Linked DNA regions of Homo sapiens: region 1 is linked to region 2. The links are contacts of gene promoters, found by promoter capture Hi-C in blood cells and fetal thymus (Javierre and others, 2016). All regions are on one chromosome and are shown on one strand. The core of a region is centred on a gene start or on the middle of the fragment in contact, and the rest is flanking DNA. Distances in the headings are between cores, read along the strand shown. Region 1 holds the start of VAMP1 (vesicle associated membrane protein 1). Region 2 overlaps LOC124902866 (a long non-coding RNA gene).

Region 1 (3,517 bases), core at 62-2,561, 320 kb before region 2:
GTTATTGTTTTCTATTTCCCTTTTTATGCATGCACAAGAGTGAAATATAGAAATCGGTATGTATATAAACCCATATTTTCAATACATGTAAAACAAAAATGCTAAGTGGTAAGGAAAGCATTTGTCACAGATAATTTGCAACCTTTTTTCTTTTTTTTTTTGAAACAGGGTCTTGCTCTGTTGCCCAGGCTGGAGTGCAGTGGCGTGATCTCGGCTCACTGCAACCGTCGGCTCCCGGCTTCAAGCGATTCTCTTATCTCAGCCTCACGAGTAGCTGGGATTACAGGCGCCCGCCACCATGCCTGGCTGTTTTGTATTTTTAGTAGAGACAGAGGTTTCGCCATGTTGGCCAGGCTGGTCTCGAACTCCTGATCTCAGGTAATCTGCCTGACTCGGCCTCCCAAAGTGCTGGGATTACAGGTGTGAGCCACTGCGCCCGGCCTTGTAACCTTTTTTCTTAGCGGGACATAAAATAATGGTGAATTTTCCAACTGATGGAGTCCAGGAAAGGGATAATAGTGAGCAGAGGGGAGATAATCACTGGAATGCCAAGAAGGAAAAATCAACTCGATTTGGCAGATTACTGGGGGAGAGGTAAAGGTGAAGGGGAGGAAATCTAGGATGGTTTCCACGTTTCTGGTCTGGGCAACTGAGTCGATGTGGTAACCTCGACTGGAGCAGGTTTGGGAGGGAGTTCAATTTAGGAAGGCTATGTTGAAAGAAACGAATGAACGAAAGCTTCGTGCTTGCTTTGGTGGGACGGAACCCCGCATCCGGTATCTGGCACCAGGAGCTTGTGGCTGTGTCTCGAGGCTCCTGCACCCTCTCAGAGCGTTAGTTAGAGGCGGGGCGGTGGTGCGGAGCGAGGGCCAGAGCAGGGCACCAGGGCTGGGCGCGCACCAGGAAGCCGCCGCCTCCAGCTGAATGCGCGAGTCCCGGCGCGGGGTGGGGCAGGGGCGGGCACGGTCTTCAGTAACTGCCTAGCGATTGGTTGGGAGGCACCACAAATGCCTAACAAACTGCTGAAGCGCCCTCCGAAGGGACAGACCTCATCTCCACCCCGCCCCGTCCCTCCGCCAGACTGGAGCGCAAACTATGGTCGCATTGATCACTGAAGGATCCTCACAGCAACCGCTCCTTTCCGGAGTCGGATGAGAGGAGAGTTGTGACTGGCAATTGGCAGGGGCGGGGCGGGCTAGGCCTGTAGCGCTGGGCGACCGTCCTGGGCATGGATTGGGCCGCGGGGTTGTCACCGTTATCCGGGAGGCGTGGTCAGCACTAATAAAGGCGGAGGCCGGCGCGGCAGCTGCAGTAAGTTCCAGCGCAGCTAGACCGCGGGGTAGTCGGCGCGAGGCGGAGCTTGGCAGTTCCGTCCACTTCAGCCGCAGCGTCCCTCACCGGGTGTCTCGCCGCAGCCTCCGGAGAGGAACAGACCCTCACTCTCTCTGTCAGAAAAATGTGAGTTGACTCTGGTGTGGGGGCTCGGCACCTCCTTGACAACTCTCGCCCCAAGCTCCCGATTCTGCGGGACGGAAAATGGCGCAATGCAGCAGCTGCAGCAACGCGGGGAACTACCACCGCGCGCCGCTTCCGGACCGGGCCACCCCCAGGGAGGGGGGCCAGCACCCCATTCTCGCACCAGCCACAGCTAGCACCCCACGGGCGGGGCAGGGGCGCAGGGGTCCCACAATCATTGCACCCTCTCCTCTCGTCTGAGTGGCGCCTCATTCTGGTTTTGGTATAGTGGAGACTCGGAGAGGGCGGGGGCTGGGGGTGGTGGATGGAGACAACTGGGCAGGGGACTCGAAAGGTATTTCTGTCATCTGGCTAAATCACTACTCAGCGCCTCAGGAAAGACAGTCATGGGTGCAACTGCCAGTTGGTAACTTATGTTGCCCTACAATCTCTGGATTTGTTTACCCCTCACCCAAAGTGTGATGTCTAGCCCCCCTCATGGCAGTGAGCAAAGCTGCAGAAACTTATCTGCCAGTTCTCTGGCACCAGGTGAGCAGCTCAGAAAGACTCAAGGGGTAGTGGGATAGTGGCCTGTCATCCCAAGCGGCTGTTCATACCAAGGCCATTCGTATAGGAGATGTTTTTCTATCACCGAGTCTTACCAAATAGTTGGAGGAGAAATAGGGAGAGCTGAGCTTTCCCCCTTTCCTCCAACACACACAGTTTAGTCTCCAGCAGTCTTCAACATCACCCCCTTCGCATGATCTTGAGGGAAAACTACGGCTAAACAAACGAAGTACTTCTCTGTCAAGACCTCAATATGTCTAATACAGATTTTTCTTTCTGATTACTACCCTGGCCTGGTCCTAGATGTATTTATGTTGCTTCTCTAAGTGACAAAAAAGGGAAAGATTTACTTGTGTTACATAAGGGTTGTAATTATCCCTAGATATTTTACTGTTGAGTGTTTCCAACTCCCAACAAGTAGTAAGTGAAATTGGCCTTGCAAATACTTCATAGCCATTTCACTTTTTCTTTTTGATTTCTATGGTTTTAACCAGATATGAGTGTTCTATGCATTTTGGGCAAGCCGTAGAATTCCAGTTGTTTTCATTTTGGGGAGGGGGCTTCCAGATAGTATCTACGTGGGATGAACAGAAGGCAACAGAAAAATCGTGGTGGCTAGCGGGGCATCACGAGGTCTCTGACCTTAATCTTGTCATTGGTGCTACCATCCTGGACTGCTTCCAACACTGGCTGCTACCTACTCATTGAATTTTCTGCCTTAAGTCGAGAGCTAGATTGCTTAGCTAGCTCAGTGGCAGGACAAGAGTCTTGTGGCTCCCATGACTTTGTGTCTATCTTTGCTTTACCTCCTTTGCACCTTAGAGGGAAATGGAAAAGTGATTCTTCAAATGGGGAATGAGTCAGGTGTAATCTGCTACCATAGCCTCTCTGAGGAGTTATTCTCTATCTTTTTAGACTAAAAGAAATTCACTTAATCAAGGAGAATGAGCTTCTGGGTATTAGTTCTATTGTAATTAGTCAAATAATTTCCTTTTAGGTGACTTTGTGGTTTCATTTTTGTTGCATTTACTCTTGGACTGCTCCTGTGAAGTATGTTTGGTGAGATTCTGCTTCTGTTTGAGGAGTTCTTACTGTAATTTCTATTCTCCATCAAATTTGAGAGATCTCCCCCCTGCCTGTGGGTGCTTCCTTGGCCGAGAACATCTCATGACTTAGGTTATACTTCTGGGAATTCTTTAGGAGGTGAGTTTAGCCTCCATGTTTTGGGACATGGAGAGGAGTTTGTCTTGAAGACCACACACTAACTTTGAGTGGTACAGAATGAGAGAACATTCTCTGTGTGTATAGTACAGTAAACCAAGATCTCTCTTTGGGATGTAAGTAACCAAGGGAGTCATCTGAGACTGTCAAATCCAGAAAAGGAAGGGACAGAATGTCTATAATGCATGCACATTGAGGACAATTTCTAGCATTTTTGCTTCCTGTCTATGCTCTTGGAACAGTTTCCATAACTAATGTAATTGCTTTGGGCCCC
Region 2 (3,710 bases), core at 736-3,235:
AGCTACAGCACCAGCTGGGCAGCACCGTGCATGAGCCGTCTTGGAAGTGGATCTTCCAGTCCCAGTCGTGCTGGCGCCTTTGGCTGACTGGGCCTTAGCCAACCTCTGCGGGATCCTGAAGCCGAACCACTGAGGAAGCCAACCAATTGCAGAGGAATATTCTTCAGCTTCTACAAAGAATCCGGCCTCTTATTTTTCTTGAAACTTACAGCTGTCTTGGTGTGTCTTATTTTTTTCCCCTCTTGATAGAGAAGTGCTACAAAGAAATGTTTTTGTACTTCAATAAAAAGACGAAGTAAGTAAAAAGATAAATGACAACTGGTTTGGACCTCATGTTGGAGATGTGATAGGGTGTAGAAGGGACTGGAAACTGGAGAGAACATGCCCATCCCAAGAGAGAAGACCCGCCTTTCCAACAACTTCCAGTCTTCCAAGTGAAGCTGGAAATCCACATTTAAAAACACAGATAAGAATTACACACACACGACTGGATGCGGTGGCTCACGCCTGTAATCCCAGCACTTTGGGAGGCCGAAGTGGGCGGATCACGAGGTCAGGAGATCTAGACCATCCTGGCTAACACGGTGAAACCCCGTCTCCCCTAAACAAAATACAAAAAATTAGCCGGGCATGGTGGCGGGCGCCTGTAGTCGTAGCTACTTGGGAGGCTGAGGCAGGAGAATGGCAGGAACCCAGAAGGCGGAGCTTGCAGTGAGCCGAGATCTCGCCACTACACTCCAGCCTGGGCGACAGTGTGAGACTCCGTCTCAAAAAAAAAAAAAAAAAAAAAAAAATTACAAACCACACACACCCTGGCTACTTTGGGTAAAAGAGTGCCAGAGAGGGTCAGTCACTTTCTCAAGATGGAGGAGGAAGCAGATAGAGCCTCAGACCTCCAGGACTCTATCTGAGACTTTTTTTTTTCTTTTTTCTTTTTTGAGATGGAGTCTTGCTCTGCCGCGCAGGCTAGAGTGCAATGGCGCAATCTCCACTCACTGCAACCTCCGCCTCCTGGGTTCAAGCAGTTCTTCTGCCTCAGCCTCCTGAGTAGCTGGGATTACAGACGCCAGCCACCACGCCCAGCTAATTTTCGTATTTTTAGTAGAGACAGGGTTTCACCATGTTGGCCGGGCTGGTCTCAAACTTCTGACCTCAGGTGATCGCGCGCCTCGGCCTCCCCACGTGCTGGGATTACAGGCATGAGCCACTGCGCCCAGCCCAAGACTTCTGTCATTTCCAAGATTTGTGATAAAATATATACGCTATTAGTTCAAGTCAAGAGTGTGATTATGTCTCACTGTTTGCTTGCTACAGGTCAGTATCTTAAACACTTTGGCTTTCTTCTTTGAGCAAGAGGTTCCATCCTTGGTGAATGGCTTGAAGGTGCTTGAAGGTGGCAGCTTGCTCAAGGCCCACAGTGGGGGATGCATTACATTTTCTGTGCAAATTATAGCAGGTAATTCAGTTTCACAGAGAGAAGCCAAAAATTTAGAACAACAGAAAACTTTGTCCTGTAGTATTTGAGGAAGAGGAATAAGATAAGTGTATTTTCCTTAAATCAACTCACCATCTGTAGTATGAAAGTCCATTTTAAATAGTTAATGATACTTATGTTTCAGGAAGGCACAGAGACAAGGAGAAAGTTCTCACGGCGTGTGAATGTGTGAGTAAAAGCCTCCTGTGAGAGGATGTGGCCTGGTTCACAAGAGAAATTTTCTGTGTCTCAAAGTAGAAGCCTGGAACTGTGGACTAATGAAATTATAGGCAGGGATTGCTTGGTCCAGCTCACATCATCCCAAGGCCTTTCCCCACCAATCAAGTCTGAACTAAAAGGATTTTGCTTGTATCTTAGAGTAAATCAGGAAGAGCTCAGCCAGAGACCCTGGGGTCCTTCAGTTTTGCAAGATGCAAATTGGGAGAATCCTAGAAGAGGTGTCCTTCCCTAAAGTCCTTTCCAACTGTGAGACCTGATGCCTTCACTTTGGGATTTGGGAGCTGAACCATAAGGAAGACTGAACAGGATCAGGAATAGGCAGTGGGAGCAGAGAGCACTGGGCCAGGAGTTGGAGGGCAAGGAGTAAGCATAGGCTGTTTGACTCCCTCGCTGCGTGGCCTCTGGCAAGTCACTTTGTTACAGGACTCCACCATTTACCCAAAGGTAGCCGTTGGGTCAGGGTTTCTGTACTATAGTGCCTTCTGTGTTCGCCAGAAATATGTTACAGGAAAGGGGGTCCCGATCCAGACCCCAAGAGAGGGTTCTTGGATCTCGAGCAAGGAAGAATTCAGGGTGAGTCCGCAGTGCAAAGGCAAAGCAAGTTTATTAAGGAAGTAAAGTGGTGAAAGAACATCCACTCCATAGACACAGTAGGACGTTCCCGAAAGTAAGAGGAGGAACGCATCCAACCTACGTACAATGCTTGTATATATGGGGAGATGTGCTCTGCTACAAGGTTTGTGATAAAGGATTAATTTTCTTAATTACTATATTTTGCAGGAATTGATATTATTATCTTTAAAGCAAAATTAGGAATACCTTTGTTCAGCTGGGCACAGTGGCTCACGCCTGTAATCCCAGCACTTTAGGAGGTTGAGGTGGGTGGATCATGAGGTCAGGAGTTCAATACCAGCCTGGCCAACATGGCGAAACCCTGTCTCTACTAAAAATACAAAAATTAGCCGGGTGTGGTGGTGGGCGCCTGTAATCCCAGCTACTTGGAAGGCTGGGGCAGGGAATTGCTTGAATCTGGGAGGCAGAGTTTGCAGTGAGCCGACATCGTGCCACTGCACTCCTGCCTGGTCAACAGAGTAAGACTCCGTCTCAAAAAAAAAAAAAAAAAAGGAATACCTTTGTACCAGGTTATCTGGACACTCCCAAGTCTGGGCCTGTTCAGTAAACACGATTAATTTGTTCCCTTAACTGTAAACATGCAGAGGCTAATAATGCCTAACTTTCTGAGAATGCAGCCCAGCAAGTCTCAGCCTCATTTTCCTAGTCCTCACTCAAAATGGAGTCATTCTGGTTCGAATGCCTCTGACAACTTTGCTGAGCATTCACTTCTTCATGTGCAAATTGGGAACAATACTGCCTGCTCTTGCTAACTCATGGTGGTAGCGTAAGGCTCTAATGAAGTCTGGTCTGGGAAATTGCCCTGAAAACCAAAATGCATCGCAGAAAGGAGTAACGTTTCATCTGACCCCTTCCTACCTCTCCAGCCCTGTCGTCCACCATGCTTCCCCTGATCTGTGTTGCAGCCACAGACTGTCTTTCAGTGTCTTGGTAGGTAGCCTCCTCCTGCAGCTGGGCCTTTGCACGTGCTATTCCCATGGCCTGAAGTGTGCCCACCAACCTTTGCCTGGCTTTACTCCTACTCATCCCATAGAACTCAGTTCAGTTGTACCTCTTCAGGGAGGACTTCTCTGCCCACACCCCCCGGCCCTCTCAGTTTGGGTGGGAATCTATTACTTGTATGCCTCCCTGGCACCACGTGTCTTACTCTCATCACTGTTTGTAGTTATAATTTGTTTGGATTAATGTCGGTCCTGTCAACAGATCATAAGCTCCATGAGGGCAGAGAATGGTGTGTTTTTTCACTCACCTTCATATCCCAAGAGCCTAGCCCAGATACCAAATAAATACTAGCGGTTGTAGAGTAGGTCCGGGAAATCTAGGTAGCAGGGATTCTGAATTTAGGTTTCTGGATGAGGGTGCT

What was found. The method cuts DNA at HindIII sites, captures the fragments that hold promoters and counts their contacts. A CHiCAGO score of 5 or more calls a contact.
Region 1: a contact is called between the fragment with the promoter of VAMP1 here and a fragment that was not itself captured in region 2, in 1 of 17 cell types (non-activated CD4 T cells). The highest score is 5.2, in non-activated CD4 T cells.

The regions. Positions count from the first base shown.
Region 1 is chr12:6,468,471-6,471,987 of GRCh38, reverse strand. It overlaps VAMP1 (vesicle associated membrane protein 1), which reads left to right and starts at 1,311. Exons shown (of 5, transcript NM_014231.5): 1 at 1,311-1,458. The coding sequence starts at 1,457. It also overlaps a transcript of TAPBPL not described here. RefSeq lists silencers at 760-1,019, 1,230-1,279, 1,780-1,829. The HindIII fragment of the contact is 5,218 bases long and covers 741-3,517 here.
Region 2 is chr12:6,146,354-6,150,063 of GRCh38, reverse strand. It overlaps LOC124902866 (a long non-coding RNA gene), which reads left to right. Exons shown (of 2, transcript XR_007063189.1): 2 at 1-312. Among named protein-coding and RNA genes, the nearest start is that of VWF, 24 kb to the right of the region's middle. The HindIII fragment of the contact is 4,885 bases long and covers 1-3,710 here.